Linked DNA regions of Homo sapiens: region 1 is linked to region 2. The links are contacts of gene promoters, found by promoter capture Hi-C in blood cells and fetal thymus (Javierre and others, 2016). All regions are on one chromosome and are shown on one strand. The core of a region is centred on a gene start or on the middle of the fragment in contact, and the rest is flanking DNA. Distances in the headings are between cores, read along the strand shown.

What was found. The method cuts DNA at HindIII sites, captures the fragments that hold promoters and counts their contacts. A CHiCAGO score of 5 or more calls a contact.
Region 1: a contact is called between a fragment that was not itself captured here and the fragment with the promoter of NCOA3 in region 2, in 7 of 17 cell types (naive B cells, total B cells, activated CD4 T cells and 4 more). The highest score is 20.7, in naive B cells.

The regions. Positions count from the first base shown.
Region 1 is chr20:47,380,216-47,385,864 of GRCh38, forward strand. LINC01754 (long intergenic non-protein coding RNA 1754) reads right to left here. Exons shown (of 3, transcript NR_146496.1): 3 at 2,551-4,804. Among named protein-coding and RNA genes, the nearest start is that of ZMYND8, 26 kb to the left of the region's middle. RefSeq lists an enhancer at 3,180-4,032. The HindIII fragment of the contact is 1,048 bases long and covers 3,668-4,715 here.
Region 2 is chr20:47,498,727-47,504,146 of GRCh38, forward strand. NCOA3 (nuclear receptor coactivator 3) reads left to right here and starts at 3,161. Exons shown (of 23, transcript NM_181659.3): 1 at 3,161-3,293. RefSeq lists a cis regulatory region at 2,077-2,149 and a silencer at 3,401-3,520. The HindIII fragment of the contact is 2,001 bases long and covers 2,492-4,492 here.

The DNA.
Region 1 (5,649 bases), core at 2,942-5,441, 120 kb before region 2:
AGGCCGAGGTGGGCAGATCACCTGAGGTCAGGAGTTCAAGACCAGCCTGGCCAACATGGCAAAACCCCATCTCTACTAAAAAATACAAAAATTAGCTGGGTGTGGTTGCAGGCACCTGTAATCCCAGCTACTCGGGAGGCTGAGGCAGGGAGAATTGCTTGAATCCGGGAGGTGGAGTTTGCAGTCAGCTGAGATCTCACCACTGCACTCCAGCGTGGGTGAAAGAGCCAGACTTTATTTCAAAAAATAAATAAAAGAAAAAGAAAATTGCTCCTTCAAGCCACGTAACAGGAGCAGAGAAGGAAAGGTGGGTCGAAGCCCAGCTTGGGCATTTTCCAGGTGTGACCTTGGACAAGTTCCGGCCTTCCCCAGTTACCCCATGACACTGCTGTCAAGGATAGAGGAGATCATGAAAAGTGAAGAGCCTCTCAGCTTTGTAAACTGTGAAGTGCCTTCTAAGGATCAGGGTGATTGCCAACTGAGCATTTCTATAACACCACCACTGAAATAAAAACTCAAGGTCGCACAGCTTCTGCTGACATCATTCAGCAGAGAACAGATGCAGAATTTCCAACCTTTCAAGAGCTGTGCACCCTGTTAGCTTGAGGGCCAAGACCTTACCACTTCCTGACCAAAACATAATGCATACAGCATATTAACCTGAAAAAAATTCTAGGAAATAGAAAAACATGCATGTAGTAAATAATTAAAATGGCATAGAAACGTATCCATGGGGCTGGGCGTGGTGGCTCACGCCTGTAATCCCAGCACTTTGGGAGGCTGAGGCGGGCGGATCATGAGGTCAGGAGTTCGAGACCTGCCTGGCTAACATGGTGAAACCCTGTCTCTACTAAAAATACAAAAAATTAGCCGGGCATGATGGCAGGCACCTGTAATCCCAGCTAATTGGGAGGCTGAGGCAGGAGGATCTTTTGAAGCTGGGAGGTGGAAGTTGCAGTGAGCTGAGATCAAGCCATTGCACTCCAGCCTGGGCTACAGAGCAAGACTCCGTCTTGAGGAAAAAAAAAAAAATTAGCCGGGCGTGGTGGTGGGCGCCTGTAATCCCAGCTACTTGTGAGGCTGAGGCAGGAGAATCACTTGAACCTGAGAGGCAGAGGTTGCTGTGAGCCGAGATCGCACCACTGCACTCCAGCCTGGGCGACAGAGCGAGACTCCGTCTCAAAAAAAAAAAAAAAGACTTTGCTCTGGTCAGGAGTGGTAGCTCATGCTGTAATCCCAGCACTTTGGGAGGCCAAGGTGGGAGGACCAATTGAGTCCAGGAGTTCAAGGCTACTAGTGAGCTATGATCATGCCACTCCACTGCACTCCAGCCCAGGCAACAGAATGAGACCCTCTCTCTAAAAGAAAAAAAAAAAAAAGCCAGGTGAGGTGGCTCACGCCTGTAATCCCAGCACTTTGGGAGGCTGAGGCGGGTGGATCACTTGAGGTCAGGAGTTCAAGACCAGCCTGGCCAACATGGTGAAATCCCGTCTCTACTAAAAATATAAAAATTAGCCGGGTGTGGTTGCCTGCGCCTGTAATCCCAGCTACTCAGGAGGCTGAGGCAGAATTGCTTGAACCTGGGAGGCGGAGGTTGCAGTGAGCTGAGATCATGTCACTGCACTCCAGCCTGGGCGACAGAGCAAGACTCCATCTCAAAAAAAAAAAAAAAAAATTTATAAAAGCACAGGGTCTTCCAGAAATTGTGGATTAATTGGTCTGGGGAGACGACCAAGCATTTGATTTTTGTTGTTTTTTTTTTTTGTTTCTTTGAGTTGTAGTCTCGCTCTGTCACCCAGGCTGGAATGCAATGGTGCGATCTGCGCTCACTGCAACCTCCGCCTCAAAGGTTCAAGCAATTCTCCTCCCTCAGCTTCCCAAGTAGCTAGGATTATAAGCACCTGCCACCATGTCCGGCTAATTTTATTGCATTTTTAGTAGAGACGGGGTTTCACCATGTTGGCCAGGCTGGTCACAAACTCCCAACCTCAAGTGATCCACCCGCCTCGGCCTCCCAAAATGCTGGGATTATAGGTGTGAGCCACCGCACCCAGGTTGATATAGTTTTTAAAGAGCCCCAGCTGATTCTAATGTGTAGCCACGGTTGAGCGCCACTGTTCTAGAAAACTACAAGTTTAAACTAGAACAAAAAGAGGCATTTTGGCCCGGCACAGTGGCAAACGCCTGTAATCCCAGCTACCTGGGAGGTTGAGGCAGAATCGCTTGAACCCGGGAGGAGGAGGTTGCAGTGAGCTGAGATGGCACAACTGCACTACAGCCTGGGCAACAGAGTGAGACTCCGTCTCAAAAAAAAAAAAAAAAGCAGGGGGAGGGGAGGCATTTTGGCATGTCCATCACTAATGGGATATACACGCACACCATATCCTGGGTTGTAGCTTTGCAGGCAGTAAATCTAATTTTTTAATTTTTTTCAATTTCAGCTCCACTCCTAACTAACTATGATTTAGGGCTGTAGGGAAGAAAAAGTACCTTTTCCTCACCCATCACAAGGTTCATGGCTAACACCCCTAAAGACAGATTAACAAGAGATAAGCATGACAAATTTATTTAACCCAAGTTTTGAGTGACTCAGGAGTCTTCCAAAGTGAAGAACCGTGACCCAGGGCACCTGTGTTTTTATGGACAGTCAAGCAGCAGTGTCACAGGAGGACAAAAGGGTTTGATCCAATGATGTACACAGTGGGAACTTAGCAAGGCCTGTGAGTTTAGTCTTCATGGTCTCCACGGACAGGACCGGACCCCCTCTGGAATGAGGGGCTTGGGGCCTACTTTCAGGAGAGGCAGGTCAGAGAAACCTTGAGTGGCCCACTGCAGAAGAGGAAGGCAGGAGAAGGTCAGAGAGTGACCTTCCTGCTTCTATGGTTTCCTCAAATTCCTTCAGCTTCAAATGCTCAGTTTGCCAAAGTGCTGTAATTTGGGGTATTGTGTTCCAAACCCCTACAGGAGAAGTCCCTACTGCTCTAAGCAGACTTGAGCAGGCATCAGAAGCACGTGGGCAGCTTGCTAAACACTGATTGAGGGACTCACCCCCACCAAGTTTCTCAGTTGAAAGATTTGAGAATCTGCATTTCTTGAAATTCTCAGGCCTTTTGATTAAGAAACTCTTTTTTTTTTTTTTTTTTTTTTTTGACAGAGTTTCACTCTTATTGCCTAGGCTGGAGTGCAATGGCATGATCTCGGCTCACTGCAACTTTAGCCTCCCTGGTTCAAGCGATTCTCCTGCCTCAGCCTCCTAAGTAGCTGAGATTACAGGGGCCCGCCACCACGCCCAGCTAATTTTTGTATTACAGGTGCCACCACGCCCAGCTAATTTTTGTATTTTTAGTAGAGACGGGGGTTTCACCACATTAGCCAGGTTAGTCTTGAACTCCTAACCTCAGGTGATCCATCCGCCTCGGCCTCCCAAAGTGCTGGGATTACAGGCGTGAGCCATCACACCCGGCAGATTAATAAATTCAATCAAGGACTTTGGGGGAAGTGGGGCTGAGAATTTGCATTTCTATCAAACGCCATCAGAATTTAGCAGGTGCTGCTGCTGATCCAGGGAACAGGCTTTGAGAACCAGGGCTCAGTTGATTACTAGTATAATTAACAACCTCTGATCCCATCACTGGCTCCCATTTCAGAGCAATGGTTGGTGCCTGCAAGCTTTCATCTCACTGTGTCCACACACAATCCCATGGGGTCCCAGTGTTCTTATGGATGAGGTTACCACGGCTGCAACATTCACAGTGAATTGTCCAGGGTCACGCAGCTGCAGCCAAAGTCTGGGGTGGAACACAGGTCTAATTACAAGCAGGAGAGAACCTGGGCAACACTTTCTTTGGGAGCATCAAAGCAAGCTCTCCCACCACCTGCTTGAGCACTTCCAAATCCTGCCGACATACCCAACCCTGCAACAGGCAAAGAGCCTCGCCTCCTGCTGGGAGAGCAGCTTCTTGCGGCGCGGCCTTCGCGAAACTCCGTGGAGAAATGGCGCCCCCTGGTGGCTCCAGAGAGAGCAGCGTTCCATTCTCCGGGCTGGGAGCTCTGGTCTCATGCGTCATGGACATTCTTGGACCCCATCACTAACATGGAAAATATTATTCAGTCCATTCCATCCTAGGAAAGAACTCAGGGTGCTGAAAGGAGGTGGGGACTTCAGAGCTCAGGAATGTAAAGGAAGGGCGGCGGACCGAGCCCTGGGGCTCTCAGGGGGCTGGAATGGTTAAAGCACAGCTGAGAACAATTCGGAGTTTCACCTTTGACCTTCCCAAAGACTTCTGCTGAGGAATTTTCTTTCTTTTTTTTTTTTTTTCTTTCAGACGGTGTTTCACTTTTGTCGCCAAGGCTGGAGTGCAATGTCGTGATCTCGGCTCACTGTAACCTCTGCCTCCCGGGTTCAAGTGATTCTCCTGCCTCAGCCTCCTGAGTTGCTGGGATTACAGGCGTGCACCAGCTAATTTTTGTATTTTTAGTGGAGACGGGGTTTCGCCACGTTTGGCCAGGCTGGTCTCAAACTCCTGACCTCAGGTGATCCACCCACCTTGGTCTCCTAAAGTGCTGGGATCACAGGTATGAGCCAGCGCGCCCGGCGGAGGAATTTTCAGTACTAAAGCTATAGTGTTGTGATGAGAGTCCGGCGTGCTCCCTGAATGCCGGTGCCCGATTCATAACCTAGTGCATTCGTTCACACATTATTCATTCAACAGATAAGCTTTTGCGTGCAGTACTATTCTGGGTGCTGGGACCACCGAAATCAGCAGAACAGACAGAATCTTTGCCTTCACGGATGCCTCCTGCCCTAGAACAGTGAATGAATGAATACATCAATAGGTAGAACACATGGAAAATAGATGACACTTAATAAAGAGATGTCATTGAGATGACACTTAAGCAAAACCCGGAGTGAGGAGAAAGAGCAGGTATCTGGTGAAGAAGTGTTCCAGGCAGAGAGAATGGTAAGAGCAAAGCCCCCGGGGCGTGGGTGTGTTTCTCTAACATGTTTGAGTTCTTTTTTTTTTTTTTTTGAGACGGAGTCTCCCGCTCTGTTGCCCTGGCTGGAGTGCAGTGGCGCCATCTTGGCTCACTGCAAGCTCCGCCTCCTGGGTTCACGCCATTCTCCTGCCTCAGCCTCCCGAGTAGCTGGTATTACAGGTGCCCGCCACCACGCCCGGCTAGTTTTTTGTATTTTTAGTAGAGACGGGGTTTCACCATGTTAGCCAGGATGGTTTCGATCTCCTGACCTTGTGATCCGCCTGCCTTGGCCCCCCAAAGTGCTGGGATTACAGGCGTGAGCCACTGCGCCCGGCCTTTTTTTTTTTTTAAATTAAAAAAATAAGGGCCAGGCACAGTGACTCACGCCTGTAATCCCAGCACTTTGGGAAGCCTAGTGGGGTGTATTACCTGAGGTCAGGAGTTTGAGACCAGCCTGGCCAACGTGGTGAAACCCCATCTCTACTAATTTGCTGGGCATGGTGGCACGCGCCTGTAGTCCCAGCTCCTTGGGGGGCTGAGGCAGGAGAATTGCTTGAACCTGAGAGGCTGAGGTTCCAGCAAGCCGAGATTGTGCCATTGCACTCCAGCCTGGGCGACAAGAATGAAACTGTCTCAAAGAAAGAAAAAAAATAAAAATAAATATGGTGCTGG
Region 2 (5,420 bases), core at 1,911-4,410:
GTCAGGGTCTCCCTCTGTCACCCAGGTTGGAGTGCACTGGCACAATTACGGCTCACTGCAGCCTCGAACTTCCGGGCTCAAGCAATCCTCTCACCTCAGCTTTCTGAGTAGCTAGGACTAGAAGCGTGGGCCACCACACCCAACTAGGGTCTGAGTTTTATCCCAAATGCAATGGGATGCCATTCGAAGCTGTTTAGGTTGGAAGTTTTTTGTTTTGTTTTGTTTTGTTTTGTTTTTGAGATGGAGTTACGCTCTTGTTGCCCTGGCTGGAGTGCAGTGGCATGATCTTGGCTTACTGCAACCTCTGCCTCCTGGGTTCAAGAGATTCTCCTGCTTCAGCCTCCCAAGTTGCTAGGACTACAGGTGTGTGCCACCATGCCCAGCTAATTTTGTATTTTTAGTAGAGACAGGGTTTCACTATATTGGTCAGGCTGGCCTCAAAACCCTGACCTCAAGTGATCTGCCTGCTTTGCCCTCCCAAAGTGCTGGAATTACAGGCGTGAGCCACCGTACCCGGCCTAGGTTGGAAGTAACATGATTTAATACATGATTTTTCAAGGATCCCTCTGGCTACTGTATTGGGAGTGCCCTGTAGAGGATGAAAGGGAGAGAAGCAAGGAGAGTAGCTAGGAGACAGGTGCAGTTGCTGAGGTGAAAGGCCATACACGTGTGAGCATTTCATCTCTGGGTTCTCAGCATCTAACGCAGTATTTTATTTTATTATTTTTATTTTATATATATATATATTTGAAATGGAGTCTCACTCTGTCGCCCAGGCTGGAGTGCAGTGGTGCAAGCATGGCTCACTGCAGCCTTGACCTCCCCTACTCAGGCAATCCTCCCACCTCAGCCTCCTGAGTACTTGGGAATACAAGCAGGCGCCACCACACCAAGCTAATTTTAAAATTTTTTGTAGAGACTGGGTATCTGCTTTGTTGCCAAGGCTGGTCTTGAACTCCTGGGCTCAAGCAATCTCTCGGCCTTCCAAAGTGTTGGGATTACAGGCCTGAGCCACTGTGCCCTGGTGGAAATATATATATATATATTTTTTTGAGACAGAGTTTCGCTCTTGTGGCCCAGGCTGGAGTGCAGTGGCGCGATCTCGGCTCACTGCAACCTCTGCCTCCCGGGTTCAAGTGATTCTCCTGCCTCAGCCTCCCGAGTAGCCAGGATTATAGGCGCCTGCCACCATGCCCAGCTAATCTTTTGTATTTTTAGTAGAGACGGGGTTTCGCCATGTTGGGCAGGCTGGTCTGGAACTTCTGACCTCAGGTGATCTGCCCACCTTGGCCTCCCAAAGTGTTGGGATTACAGGTGTGAGCCACCGTGCCCGGCCCAGAAATGAGATATTTAATTTTTTAATTTTTACTTTTTTTTTTTTTGAGACGGAGTTTCACTCTTGTTGCCCAGGTTGGAGTGCAATGGTGCCATCTCGGCTCACCGCAACCTCTGCCCCCAGGTTCAAGTGATTCTCCTGCCTCAGCCTCCTGAGTAGCTCGGATTACAGGCATGTGCTACCATGCCCAGCTAATTATGTATTTTTAGTAGTGACGGGGTTTCTCCATATTGGTCAGGCTGGTCTTGAACTCCCGACCTCAGGTGATCTGCCTGCCTTGGCCTCCCAAAGTGCTGGGATTACATTCGTGAGTCACCGCGCCCAGCCAAAATGAGATATTTTAAATAACATAAGTAAACAGAAATATATCATGATTTTAATGATAATTCATGCTCTGAAAATAAATGAAGAAAGGAATAGGAGTAGGGAAAGCTGGGATCAGAGTGGGCAGGAAGTTAAAATAGAGCAGTTAGGGAAAGCCTCACTGAATAAGTGACATTTGGACAATGACCATGGGGAGATTAGGGAATGGGTTATTTGAATTTTCTGGGAAAATACTGTTCTAGGCAGAGGAAATAGCAAGTGCACGATCTTTAAGGCCAGAGTGTGCTAAGCACGTTGGAGAGGCCGAGTCCATTGTAGCTGAGTTACAGAAGTGAGTGGAAGAGAAGAAGGTGATGAGTTTAGAGAGGGAAGGGCAGGGCAAGAGACGGGCTGTATGGGGCTTTGCAGGTTACTGCAAGAATTTTGCAGGAGGGACAGAGACTGACTTGGTTCTTACCAGGATTCCTCTGGCTGCTGTGTTGAGTATAGACTCTAAGAGGAAAGAGTGGAAGCAGGCAGAACACTGAGGAGGCTGTTGCAGTGGTCCAGGTGGGAAATGATGGTGCTGACCGTGGAGGTGGTAAGTGGTCAGATTATTCTATTTTATTTACACTCAACACATCTAATACTGACTCAATATTATCTAACATACAGTCCACATTGAAATTGCCCCCCAAATTCTTTTTACATAAAAAAATCATCCTGAATCCAATCAAGTCTCACCTATTGCTTTTGGTTTTCACCTCTTTCATGCTGTCATATTTTAAAAGACTCCAGGCTAGATGTTGTGTAGAATGTCCCACATTCTGAATTCGTTTATTTTTTCAAGTAAGCTTTTTGTGTGTATGTGGCAAGAATACGACAGAGGTAGCAATATGCTTTCCCCACTGCATCATATTAGGAGACACATAACAACAGTCCTGACCCATTATTGGTGGTGCTAAGTTCGATCACTTGGTAAGGGGGTGCCTGCCAGATCTTTCCATTGTAAAGCAAGCTGTTCTTTATTGTAAGTCATAAATACGCTGTGGGATGATACTTCGGGACTAAATATACCCTGAATATACTGCTGCCCAACAACATTTCACCCAGTGACTTTAGCAGCTAAGGAACAGCCTCGTGGCTTCCGACCTTGTGCCTCAGTTCGCTCATCTGAAAAATGAGGATGATCATGGTCCCTACCGGATGCTTGTTTTGAGGATCCGTGCTTGGCATACCAGAAACGCTCCACAAATGTTAGGTATTACTGGACGAAGGCAAATATGAAAAAAATTAAGGGCAGGGCTAGGACTGCATTCCGGTTCTCCGGATCCCGAGGGAGCTCCCAGTCGATGCTGGGCGAAAGCGGCCGCACGAGCCCACGTCGCCACGCCCTCCGCCGCGGAAGCCAGGGTGGGGGTCGCTGGAACCCTAGGCCGGCCGCGCAAGGCCCCCTGGGACCGGTAGTGCTGGGCGTGGCCTCGGGACTACATATCCCAGTGGCCCCCGTGCGGCGACTTTAGCTGCTGCTGTCTCAGCCGCTCCACAGCGACGGCAGCGGCTGCGGCTTAGTCGGTGGCGGCCGGCGGCGGCTGCGGGCTGAGCGGCGAGTTTCCGATTTAAAGCTGAGCTGCGAGGAAAATGGCGGCGGGAGGTGAGTGGAGATAAAGGAGGAGGCGGTGGCGGGCGAGGGGGTGGAGTGCGAGGCGGAGGGAAGAGGGGCGAGTTCCCCAGGCTGCGAGAGCCAGCGGCTTCAGATCTGCCAAGGCACTGAGGGGCGCGCCGGCCGGGGGACGCGCTGAGGTAGTTTCGGGGTGTCGGGGCCGCGCCGCTTCCCCTCAGCCCGGGGGGCGGCCCGCGGCGGTAGGAGCTGAGACGAAGCTGGGTGGCAGTCCGCTTGGGGATCCGAGGGGGTCCCCGCGCGGAGGGGTCACCCGAGGAGTTTGCGGGGGGACTGCAGGGGCCCACTTTCCCCTTCTGTCCCTAAAGTTTTTTCTTCCTCTTGCCTCCCCCAGCCCTTTTGAAAGCTCCCCGCGTCGTCCTCCTGCTGCCCCGGCTCCTTAGCAGCTTCTGGGACGCACGGGAGGGAAAAGCCGCGGGGACCCCCCCCACCCCAGCCTCCCAGCCGGGTGAGATTTGGTTGCTGTGTTTCCTCCTCACTTGGGCATTTAAAAAATATTTTAACACGAATTGTCCGCGGAATTTTCATGTTGGGCTCGGGTAGCTTCTTAGTTTTCTCGGTAAAAAGGCGTTTTACTACCTCTGGTGTGAAGGCTGGGAAATGGCAAGTGGGAAGTTGGTTGATAAAATTAGGAGTTTGGCTGTCTTTATTACTACTTTTTTTTTTTTTTTGCTCTCCCCATCTCTCATTTTATGAACATCGACCCAGTTCGTCATGGTTTAAATAAACTGCTTGTCTTGTACCTGCCTTAACAAAACTAGCCATGGGTCGTTGGGAGACTTAGTTGCTTCCTAGGCAGTTTGAGGGCATCTAGGGTGGAAAAGTTAACCGAGAGAGCGAGCATCTACCTCACTGGCAGGATCTGGGATTCCCAAATGGAATGACACGGAAGCTATGAGATTCTCTCGAAGTCGAAACTTTTTTCCCCCTCCCGAATGCGAAGACTTCCTTTTTGCAATATTTGAGCAGGGCTTCAAAACCAACCTGTTTTTGTTATTAAGCCTGTACGGTAAAGAAACAGGAAGGAGAGTACCAGCTGTCTTGCTGCAGTGGTTTTAAATGGAGTTGAATGAGATGCGTGAGAGTGGTAGTAGTATTGAGTAAGATTGCTGCATCTCTTTGATTTAAATGCCTGGCCTCGGATCCACCTAACTGATCCCTGGCTGCAAAAAAGCTTCAGTATTTGTTGCAGCAGGTTGTTGAGAAGGTGATTGGAGGAATAAAAATCTTAGGTCTTCAGCGAATGCTGCACAAACGAAAATGTTAATGGAAACCTGTAAGTTTGTGAATTGTTTGTTCTTGAAAATATTTTAAATGTATGCTCATTTAGAATATGGTTCTACCGAATGATATCCAATTGGAAAGGTACAAACACATTGAAAAGTGAATCTCTCTTTCACGCCAAACCCTACAGTTTCCCCTTCTCAGAGGCAAAGACTGTTACTGGTTTTTAGAATATCCTTGGTCTTTGGAATAATTATTTTAAGATTTTCATTTGAAACCACTTCTGTTGGATACCAAAAGCAGGGAAATAAAATGAACAGAAGAAACAGAAAATGTGGGAATACTGTTTTTGCTCTCTTAAAAAAAATGTTGATAGCTATTGGAAAAAGCTCTTCAGAACTTACTGCTTATGTCACCTTATCTATTAATACCGTTAAATAACAATCTGTGGGGCTTTAGGATAAAGAACTCTGCCAGGGTTCATTGTTTGTATGTACAATGAATCCTCTGCTTGTAACATGTAAAATGATATTGAACACTATAGCTCCTGTCACTAGAGGTTGCTTCAGGTTCTGCATTTCAATGAGCAGAAATCTAAATTGCCTGTGATCCTAAATTATAGGGGCATTTTATGTATAGATGGAAATGACTTAATTGTCCAATCAGCATTTGAAATAAGAGGCATATACCAGCTTTTGGCATATAGAAGATGGGGATTGTGGACTAAGCGGGAGGCTGTAATATTTCTAGAGCAGTTATAGGAAATATTTCTGCCATAAGATATTTAATTACAAAGGCTTTGAAAATGTACAACTTAAGCATCAATAGCGAGATTTATATTTTTATATTTTAGAATGGTTGTTTTAACAGCTTGCC